2 separate regions of the Homo sapiens genome follow, and region 1 is linked to region 2. Evidence: promoter capture Hi-C in 16 types of primary human blood cells and fetal thymus (Javierre and others, 2016). All regions are on one chromosome and are shown on one strand. Each heading gives the region's core, a stretch centred on a gene start or on the middle of the fragment in contact. The rest is flanking DNA. Distances are from core to core; before and after follow the strand shown. Region 1 has its middle 40 kb from the start of SNAR-I. Region 2 holds the start of CLDN1 (claudin 1).

Region 1 (5,576 bases), core at 827-3,326, 590 kb after region 2:
GCAGCAAAATCATGTAAGTGTATGTTTTAAGAATGTCCAAAAAACCATCAAACTATTTTACAATTGGTTATAGCATTTTATACTCCCACAAAAAATATATTACAGTTCCACTTACTAATATCCTTGCTATCATTTAGTCAGATATACAATTTTAGTTATTTTAGTAGGTGTGTAATGGTATCTCATTGTGGTTTAAATGTTTATTTTCTTACTAATAATGAATACATTTTTCTGTGCTGATCTGCCAGCTGTATATCCTATGCTAAAGTGTCAATTGAAGTTTATTGCCCACCTTTAATTGTGTGCTTGTTTCCTGAATATTGAATTTAGAGAATTCTTATATCATTTATGAACTGCAAACATTTTCTTACTGTCTGTAGATTTTTTTCCATTTTCCAAACCATGTTTTTCTTTCTTTCTAACTTTTATTTTAGTTTCAGGGGGTATATGTGCAGGCTTGTTACATGGGTAAATTGCATGTCATGGAAGCTTTTTGTACAGATTATTTTGTTACTCAGGTAAGGAACATTGCACCTCATAGGTGGTTTTTCAGTTCTCAACTGCTCCTACTCTCTACCCTTAAGTAGTCCCTGGTGTCTATTGTTCTCCTCTTTGTATCCACATGTACTCAATGTTTAGCTCCAACTTATAAGTGAGAATGTGTAGTTGGTTTTCTGTTTTTGCATTCATTTGCTTAGGATAATGGCCTCCAGCTCCATCTCTGTTGCTGAAAGAACATAATTTAATTCTTTTTATAGCTGTGTAGTGTTCCATGATGTGTATGTACCATATTTTCTCTATCTAGTTCATTAAAGGCATCTAGGTTGATTCAATGTCTTTGTCTTTGTAAATACTGCAATAATGAACCTATGTGTATATGTGTGCATGTGTCTTCATGTAGAACAATTTATATTTATTTGGGTATATACCTAGCAATGAGATTGCTGGGTAAAAAGGTGGTACTCATTTAAACTCTTTCAGAAATTTCCAAACTGTTTTCCACAGTGGCTGAACTAATTTACATTTCCATCAGCAGTGTATAAGCTTTCTCTTTTCTCCACATCTTCACCAGCATCTGTTATTTCTGGACTTTTAAAGAATAGCCATTCTGACTAGTATGAGATGGTATTATTGTGGTTTTGATTTCCACCCCTCTGATGATTAGTAATGTTAAATATTTTTTCATTTGTTTGTTTGCTGCATGTATATCTTGTTTTGAGAAGTGCCCATTCATGTCCTTTGCTCATTTTTTAATGGGGTGTTGGTTTTGCTTGTTATTTTGTTTAAGTTTCTTATAGATACTGGATATTAGACCTTTGTCAGAAGCATAGTTTGCAAATATTTCCCCTCATTCTGTATGTTGTCTGTTTACTCTCCTCCTAGTTTCCAATGCTGTGCAGAAGCTTTGTAGTTTAATAAGTCCTACTTGTCAATTACCGTTTTTGCTGCAATTGCTTTTGGAGTCTTTGTCATGAAATCTTTGCCAAAGGCTACGTTCAGAATAATATTTCATAGTTTTCTCTTCCAGGGGTTTTATAGGTTTGGGTTTCATATTTAAATCTTTAATCTATCTTAAGTTGATTTTTATATATGGTGAAATGGACGGGTCCAGTTTCAGTCTTCTGCATATGGCTAGCCAGCTCTCCCAGCATCATTTATTGAATAGGAATTCTTTACCCCACTGCTTGTTTTTGTCAACTTTGTCAAAGCTCAGATATTTTCCCTTGTGTGGGTTTATTTCTGGGTTCTCTAATCAGTTTCATTTGTCTATGTGTCTGTTTTTCTACCAGTACTATGTTGTTTTGGTTAGTGAGGCCTTGTAGTACATAGTTTGAAGTCATGTGGTGTGATGTTTCTGGTTTTGTTCTTTTTGCTTAGGATTGCTTTGGCTATTTGGGCTTTTTTTGTTCAATATGAATTTTAAAATTGCTTTCTCTAATTCTGTGAAAAATATCATTGGTAGTTTGGTAGAAATAGTATTGAATCTGTAAATTTCTTTGGGCAGTATGGTCATTTTAACAGTACTGAGTCTTCCTATCCATGAGCACGGAATGTGTCTTCACTTGTTTGTGTCTTTTCTGACCTCTTTCAGCAGTGTTTTGTAATTCTTATTGTAGATATTGTTGCCTTCCCTGGTTAGCTGTACTCTTAGGTATTTTATCATTTTATAGCTATTGTGAATTGGATTCCATTTTGGATTTGGCTCTTAGACTGAACATTATTGGTATATAAAAATGTACTAAATTACGCACATTGATTTTGTATTCTGAAACATTGCTGAAGTTGTTGATGAGATCTAGGAGTCCTTGGGCAGAAACTATGTGACTTTCTAGGTATAAAATCACATTGTTTGTATAAGTTTGAGTTTCTCTCTTCCTATTTGTACATGTTTTATATCTTTCTCTTGCCTGGTTGCTCTGGATAGGACTTTTAGTTCTATGTTGAATAGCAGTGCTAAGAGTGGACATGCCTGTTTTGTTCTGGTTCTCAAGGGGAATGCTTTCTACTTTTTCCCATTTGGCGTGATGTTGACTGTGGGTTTGTCATAGAAGTCTCTTATTTTTTTGAGGTACTTCCCTTTGATATGTAGTTTATTGAGAGATTTTAACATGAAAGGATGTAGAATTTTATCAAAAACCTCTTCATCATCTATTGAAATGATTATGTGGTTTCTGTTTTCAATTCTGCTTATGTGGTAAATTATATTTATTGATTTTCATGTGTTGAACCAGTCTTGCATCCCAGGAATAAAGCTTACTTGATTGCATTGGATCAGCTTTGCGATGTGTTACTGGTATCAGTTTCCTGATACTTTGTTGAAAATTTTTGAATCTGGGTTCATCAGGGATATTGGTCTGATGTTTTTGGTAGGAGTCCTTCCTCCCCATTTTTTTTTTTTTTTTTTGGAATAACTTCAGTAGCATTGGTACCAGCTCTTCTTTATAAGTCTGGTAAAATTTGGCTGTGAATCTGTCTTGTCCAGGGCTTTTTCTTGTTGGTAGGTTTTTTATTATTGATTCACCTTTGAAACTCCTTATAGTCTGTTAATGATTTTCATTTCTTCCTGGTTCACTCATGAGAGGTTATATGCTTCCAGGAATTTATCCATCTCTTCTAGGTTTTCTAGTTTGTCTCCAAAGTGGTGATCATTATAGCCTCTGAGGGTTTTTTGTATTTCTGTGGGGTTGGTGACAATGTCACCTTTGTCATTTTTAATTCTGTTTATTTGGATATTCTCACTTTTTAATTTATTAATCTAGCTAGCAGTCTATCAATGTTATTTATTCTTTCAAAGAACCAACTTTGGGTTCATCTATCCTTTTTATACATTTTTGTGTTCAATTTTGTTCAGTTCAGCTTTGATTTCTGGTTATTTATTTTCTTCTGCTATGTTTGGGGTTGGTTTCCTCTTGTTTTTGTAGTTTATCTGGATGCAATATAAATGTTATTTTGAGGTCTAACTTCTTCATATAGGCAATTAGTGCTATGAACTTTCCTCTTAACACTGCTTAGCTGTGTCCCAGAGATTCTATTGTATTGTATCCTTGTTTTCATTAGTTTCCAAGAATATTTTTTTAATTTCTGCATTAATTTCATTCTTTACCCCAAAGTCATTCAGGAATATGTTGTTTAATTTCCATGTAATTGTTTGATTTTGAGAGTTCTTCTTGGTATTGACTTCTCTTTTAATTATGCTGTAGTCTGAGAGTATGCTTGGTATGATTTTGGTTTCTTTAGAATTTTTGAGAATTGCTTTATTGCTGAGCATGTGTTTGATTTTCGAGTACGTGCCATGTGCAGATGAGAAGAATATATATTCTGCTGTTGCTGCATGGAGTCTTCTACAGATGTCTATTAGGTCCTTTTGATGAAGTGTCGAAGTTTAGATCCTAGATATGTTTGTTAGTTTTCTAATTCATTGATCCATCTAACACTGTCAGCGTGCTGTTGAAGTCTCCCACTATTATTGTGTAGTTATCTAGGTCTCTACATGTCTCTATAAGAACTTGTTTTACAAATCTGGGTGCTCCAGCATTGGGTGCATATATATTTAGGACCGTTAATTCTTCTTTTCGAATTGAACCCTTTATCATTATGTAACGCCCTTCTTGGCTTTTTAAAAATTTTTTGTTGGTTTAAAGTCTGTTTTTCTGAAATAGGAATAGGAACTCCTGCTCTTTTTGTTTTCAGTTGGCTTGGTAGATTTTTCTCCATCACTTTCCTTTGAGCCTATGAATGTCACTTCATGTGATGGGTCTCTCGAAGATAACATAGAGTTGGGTCTTGCTTCTTTATCCAACTTGCCAATCTGTGCCTTTTAAATGGGATGTTTAGCTCAACATTTAAAGTTAATATTGATATATGCGCATTTGATCTTGTCATCATGTTATTACCTGGTTGTTATGTAGACATGTTTTTGTCTTTGCTTTATAATGTTAATGGTGTATGTACTTAAGTGTGTTTTTATGATGGCTGGTAATAGTCTTTCATTTCCATATTTAGCACTAACTTAAGGACTTTTTTTAAAAGAGGTCTCATGGTTTCCTTAACATTTGCTTAACTGAAAAGATTTCATTGCTTCTTTGCTTATAAAACTTAGTTTGCCTGGTTATAAAATACTTGGTTAGAATTTCTTTTCTTTGTGGATGCTGAATATAGGCCTTCAGTCTCTTCTTGCTTGTAGGGTTTCTGCTGAAAAGTCTACTTTGAGCCTGATGAAGTTCCCATTGTAGGTAACCTGCCCTTCTCCCTTCTCTCTAGCTATTTTTAATATATTTTCTTTTTCTTTTCTTTTTTCTTTCTGAGACAGAGTCTCACTCTGCTGCCCAGGCTGGAGTGCAGTAGAGCTATCTCAGCTCACTGTAACATCCACCTCCCGGGACTGCAACCTCCGCCTCCTGGGTTCGAGCAATTCTAGTGTCTCAGCCTCCCGAGTAGCTGGGATTATAGGCATGTGCCACCACTCCCAGCTAATTTTTGTATCTTTAGTAGAGTCAGGGTTTCACCATCTTGGCCAGGCTGGTCTCCAACTTTTGACCTCATGTGACACACCTGTCCTTGCCTCCCAAATTCCTGGGATTACAGGTGTGAGCCACCGTGCCCAGCCTTTAATATGTTTTCTTTCACATGGCTTTGGAGAATCTGATTGTCAGGCCTCTGAGCCCAAGCCAAGCCATCGCATCCCCTGTGACCTGCACATATATGCCCAGATGGCCTGAAGTAACTGAAGAATCACAAAAGAAGTGACTATGCCCTGCCCCATCTTAACTGATGACATTCCACCACAAAAGTGTAAATGGCCGGTCCTTGCCTTAAGTGATGACATTACCTTGTGAAAGTCCTTTTCCTGGCTCATCCTGGCTCAAAAACACCCCCACTGAGCACCTTGCGACCCCTACTCCTGCCCACCAGAGAACAAACCCCCTTTGACTGTAATTTTCCTTTACCTACCCAAATCCTATAAAAGGGCCCCACCCTTATCTACCTTTGCTGACTCTCTTTTCGGACGCAGCCCGCCTGCACCGAGGTGAAATAAACAGCCACGTTGCTCACACAAAGCCTGTCTGGTGGTCTCT
Region 2 (5,655 bases), core at 858-3,357:
CACCTGCCAATTCCTTAACGTGGTACCTAAAATGCCTGACACCGTTTCCTTAAATATATTTATCTTTCCATGGAGAAATTCAATAATTATTACCAAATTTTTCATTTTATAAGTACAAATATAACCCCTGAGGGCAATGAGCAACACATAATTACTAAACTTATGGATTGGTTTTGGTGTAAAGAAGTCCTGATATGAGAACCTTCAAAAGCTGAAATAATAACACTCAAAACAACCATGCACATTGACTGAGCAAATGCCACAGGTATTCAAGGTGTTCAAACAGATTTGGAACAGGTTTAATAACTCTAAACTATATGGCTTTTGATATACACTATTAAAAGTTGTCCCTTGATAGGAGGTAGACAAAACAAGTTAAGTAAACTTGAACAATGCCAACACTTTTCACCCTTAGCATGCAATGGGGGCCAGTGGGCAGTCACGTTCATCTAGGCAAAGACTAAGGGATCTTTTCTTCAAGTGAGTTAAAGGGCATAACAGACACATGATATAAGACAATTAATGTGATTTCTCAAGGAAGATACTCCAGCCGTGAATCATTATTATCTAAGTAAATGGGAATTTAATGACTTTTCGGACAAGGAACTCGAAACCTTTAATTTAAAAAACAAAGTAAAACAATTATCCTATTATCCTTCTTCCCACCATCCTTAGAAATATGTCTCTCTATACAATCCTTTCCAGTTTTACAGGGGGTCACTGAACATCCATTACACAGAAATTTCTTTGTGGAAGATGGAAACCTAAGGAAGACCCACCTCTTCTTTCTCTCTCACTGCCTTCCACTCCCAGCTGACCTCTGATTTCATCAGCTATGACTATTTTGCTGCATTTCCCTTCAGTGCCTTTACTTTTTTCTTTGTATTATGTTGCGCAGGTTATTTAGAACCTTTCTTGTCAGCCTTTCCCCACCTGCCACCAACCTTCTCTTTCCAAGATAGCACTACACCGTCAGCCTCTACAGAAGACCTTGGGTCTGAAAATTAAAACTTCGGGGGAATCTCAAGCAGCTTCTCCAAAGAGTCTTGCAAGGGGCCTCCCTGCACTAACTGGATCTTATAAATTAAAAGAATCAACCTCAAGCATAAGCAGAAGACACTTAGATAGGACATTTCCAGTAGGAATGTAACTTTTACTATGAAAAAATCATATTAAAGGTTAAAAAGTTATATCTAATACTTGAGGATTATTTATTTAAGCGTGCACACTTGAGAAGTTACCAGGCTTCAAACTTTTTCAGTCATCCCATTTTCTTGTCTGAACTCTACCAATCCTCAATTTACCCCAAATCTCGGAATGCCTAGGAGAGGTCTAAGAGCTCAAGTTCAAGTTTGGCCTTCACTCCCTCAACTCGAACCACCAGCATAGGAATTTAGGATGAAGCCACACCTAGAGTGGCAGAAGTGTCACCCAGGGAGTTAGAGGCAAAACTAGAGCTTATGCCTGGGCGTCGCTTTCCTCAAACCAGGATTCTCTTCATTTCCTTATGACAGAGCACATGATCAGAAGACTTGATCAACTGAAGACTGATAACCATGGAATCACACAACAGAATGAGCCCATAAGGGAGCTGCAGGGGGACTGGGGCCTCTGGACGGCCGCTGTGAGGTGGGGGTGCACTCACTGCTCAGATTCAGCAAGGAGTCAAAGACTTTGCACTGGATCTGCCCGGTGCTCTGCGACACGCAGGACATCCACAGCCCCTCGTACATGGCCTGGGCGGTCACGATGTTGTCGCCGGCATAGGAGTAAATCCTCCACTGGGGCAGGGCAGTGCTGACGATGGCGCCGATCCATCCCAGGAAGGCGAGAATGAAGCCCAACAGCTGCAGCCCCGCGTTGGCCATGACTCGCTCGGGCGCCCGCGCTGGCTCAGGGGTGGCAGGTGCAGAAGGCGGAGAGTTTGCAGGTGGGCAACCCGGACTCCCGAAGGTGGCTGGGCCCCGCGGAGGAAGTTAAGGCGGGGAGCCCTGCTCGCTGCGCCGCCGCTGGAGAAGCTCTGGGTCGGGGTTGGGGTCCGCGCCCGGGGCGGCGCTGGAGTCTGGATACTAGAAGCTGCGGTTGCTCCCAGGCTCGGGAACTGAGACGCAGAACCGCTGGGCGCCGCGATTTAAAGCAGCTCCGCCCGCCTCAGCCCCGGCAGCCGGGGAGCGCCCCCTGGCGGTTTCAGGGCGGCTCACCGAGAGGGCGCCGGGAGCGCCCGGTTGGGGAACGCGCGGCTGGCGGCGTGGGGACCACCCGGCAGGACCAGGCACCAGAGCTGCGTCCCTGCTCGCTTTCTCTCGTGGATCTTCTCGCTCCTGTAAGGCGTTTCACGCTTTTCATTCATTCACTCCAATTATCCAAAAATTACTATGCACTGTACTTGTAAATCCTAACACAAAGATGAAAAAATGATCCTTCAAGAGCTGCAGTTTTAGGTTTAATACTTTTTTCCCAATATCTTATTAAAAGGCATTTCTACCCAACTCCGCGTCTCCTCCCCCATCACACCATTTCTCTCTCCTTTGCTTGGCTTCCTCCCCCTTCTTTCCTCTCTCTGCTCTCTTCTGTCAAGGTCGTTCCATCACTTGTCTCTGCAAGGAGCCTCAGAGACTTTTACACTCTACAGATTGGGAAACAGACCCAGAGAGCAACATGATTTACACACACACACACACACACACACAGACACACTCACGCACGGAGCATATCCAGTACTTGGCTCCCCTCCCAATCTGCTTTCCACTACATATCAAGTTGACCCAAAATATCCCCTTTGATCTATGATTGTCCTTTTTGATGTATTATTGTCCTTATGAAACTGCAGGCTAGCAGCCCTTCCCCGCCAAACACCAACCTCCTCCCCACAGCAGTTATGTCTTAGAGCAGCAATTCATTATCAGAGGGACCTGGCCAGTGCCCCGCTCTCCCTGAAAGGTGTTAATTTTGTGAGTTATCAAATGTTGTTCGTCGCAGGTGAGGACATGTAAACAGCGTTTCCCCAGTGGCAAAAGGACTGGGCTGGAGTTGAGGAAGTCTGGGCTCTGGTTCCAGCTTTTACTGTGACTGGCTATCTCACCCCTCCGGTTTCGGTCTCGCTGGGACTGTAGTTTCCCTCTATGTTTCTCCAAAGCTTCCTTCTTTGTAGTTAGTCAGAAGTGCTGTTGTGGTTAGGAATCATTGAAATGTTTTTCCAACTGCTTTTTGTGTGTGGTGCGAGTGTGGTGGGAGGGGAAGCTTCTATGGTTTTAGTAAAAACAGAAGCATCTTGGAAGCAGAAATAAACATATTAAGGATAAAATAAGATATACCCTTATATACCATGGCAACTGCTAGTTGGTGACAGAGAAGGAAAGGTGCAAATTCTCAAGGTGGGAATGGGAAGAAAGGCCAAGCCCCACCACCTTCATTTCCACCTGGCTCTCCCTGGATGCCTTTCATGTAGGCTTAAAACTAAAGGACTTGGCCGTGCTAGGATTTAGGGACAAGCAATGAAGAATGTAAGACAGGAGCTAGATGAAGACAATTAATTTGGACTGAGATTAACACAGTGAATACTGTCTTTCTCCTATCAGCTGTTTAGGACAAGACCATGTTCGTGTTGTATCCCAGGGTTAGGGCCTGCAGTCAGTACTACTGTCTAGGTCTCAGTGGATGTTCTGTGGGTGCCTGTCAGTGTGGATGAAGATGTATCAATCACATTTGATTTTGTAAAAATTCCCTGATCAGAGAAGGCACTGGAATTTGCTGCAGGACTAGAGCAGTACCATGTGAATCATATAATCTCATTTTCTTCTTTTTTTTGTTCCAAACATTTAAGAATTAAAAGTATTATTAAACACCCGGGCACGGTGGCTCAGGCCAGGCGCAGTGGCTCACGCCTGTAATCCCAACACTTTGGGAGGCTGAGGCAGGCGGATCACTTGAGATCAGGAGTTCGAGATCAGCCTGGCCAACATGGTGAAACCCCGTCTCTACTAACAATATGAAAATTAGCCGGGCATGGTGGTGGGCGCCTGTAATTCCAGCTACTTGGGAGGCTGAGGTAGGAGAATTGCTTGAACCCGGGAGGCGGAGGTGGCAGTGAGCCCAGATCGTGCCACTGCACTCCAGCCTGGGCAACAGACCAAGACCCCATCTCAACAAATAAATAAATAAATAAATAAACAAATAAATGACATTTTCTGCGTTCAGTAAATATATTTGTGCACAGGCCCTTTTACTCTGCATTACAACTGGTTTCTATCAACCTACAATTAGCGGGGAATCGGAGGGATGAGTTCTGTGGTCAGCAGGGTCCCGTGTTTTTGTTTTGTATTTCAGGTCTGTGCGAGGCTGATTACTTCACTACCCACAACCATGTTTGTGAGGCTGAGGTGAATGCTGTTTGCTTCACTGTGATTCAGGCCCATCTCTAGGCATCCTTAATCCTGTCTAGTTTTCTGCTCCTAGCTTAAGTGCAGAGGACAGGTGAGATAATGGCTCAGCATAAATCTATCAACTTAAGAGGAAAAACAGCTTCCAAATACTGGCCTTTCATATCTGAAACATAAACAGTAAAGGCAGCACTGAGACCAAGAAGGCTCTAGAAAGGCTGGCAATGGTATGGTAAGTGTCCTAGCCTGTTGAGTAGTAAAATCTGCTATGTACCCTCAGACAAATTACTTCTTTTCTTCCTCAGTTTCCCTACCAATAAAAGGGATGGGGTTAATTTCTGAAAGTCACCCAAGTCTAAAGCTTTATGACTCTAAGTAATGACAGCTGGCACTTGTTGCTGTATATTTTCATCAAGTGTTGAGGTCAGAGTTTTATATGCTATCTCTACGTGCAGGTAACAGACACAGAGAGGTCAGGCTGCTTATCCAAGTTCATATTGAATATGGCAGCGCTGGAATTCCAAACTATATAATTTGACGCTCGTGTCCATGCCTTTGACTGCTCTCCTGCAGTATTTCTCTGTGTGACCCAAATCAATCGAGGACAATTTTTTTTTTCTTCTTTGGAAGAGCTTAGACATACTTATCATGTGTTTCTTGCTCCAGGCAGTGGCAAGATATTTTACTCTGTGACTGTCTCTTCTTAATATCTGTTGCAGCCCACTGAGGTTTTATACCCTGGGGATTTAGAATCATGTGGCAAAAAGTTGTTGCTGTTGAGGAGGAAGAGATGTGTAAAAACAGCAAATAGCGTACTGGTTTATTCCATGTGCTTGTGCGACTGATGCTTGGGCTTAGCCATGATCTTGAGAACCAATAATAAGTAGAAGAGATATACACATAAAAGACAGAAGCAAAGGTAAGACTGTGAGTGTCAGAAGAGAGTGTAGACAAAGAACCAAGCCTCTAAGAGGCAGCATGGCAGATTCTCAGAAATGGTTAATGATGACAGTATGAAAGCCATTGGGATGTTAATTTTTTTGCTTAGTGTTAATATATGTTAATGTTGACTTTTCAGAGCTTCTTAAGTGGTAAAAGCAGAACGAATGAACACATTACTAAGTAAGCAATCTGCTGTGTAATTATTTAGGGCTTGAGAAAAGGATCAGAGTACAAATATTGTATAAATTTAACATGAATTTTAGTATTAAAACATTCAGGTTACTAAAACTGCATTGCTGTGTGACTGACACAACCTTTTAAAATGGCCCTTTGA

The links. Contacts are between HindIII fragments. The CHiCAGO score rates a contact against its expected background, and 5 or more counts as called.
Region 1: a contact is called between a fragment that was not itself captured here and the fragment with the promoter of CLDN1 in region 2, in 1 of 17 cell types (neutrophils). The highest score is 6.4, in neutrophils.

Annotation. Positions count from the first base shown.
Region 1 is chr3:190,915,017-190,920,592 of GRCh38, forward strand. No RefSeq gene overlaps it. Among named protein-coding and RNA genes, the nearest start is that of SNAR-I, 40 kb to the left of the region's middle. The HindIII fragment of the contact is 1,350 bases long and covers 1,402-2,751 here.
Region 2 is chr3:190,320,339-190,325,993 of GRCh38, forward strand. CLDN1 (claudin 1) reads right to left here and starts at 2,108. Exons shown (of 4, transcript NM_021101.5): 1 at 1,646-2,108. The coding sequence starts at 1,868. It also overlaps a transcript of CLDN16 not described here. RefSeq lists a silencer at 2,099-2,258. The HindIII fragment of the contact is 3,794 bases long and covers 1-3,134 here.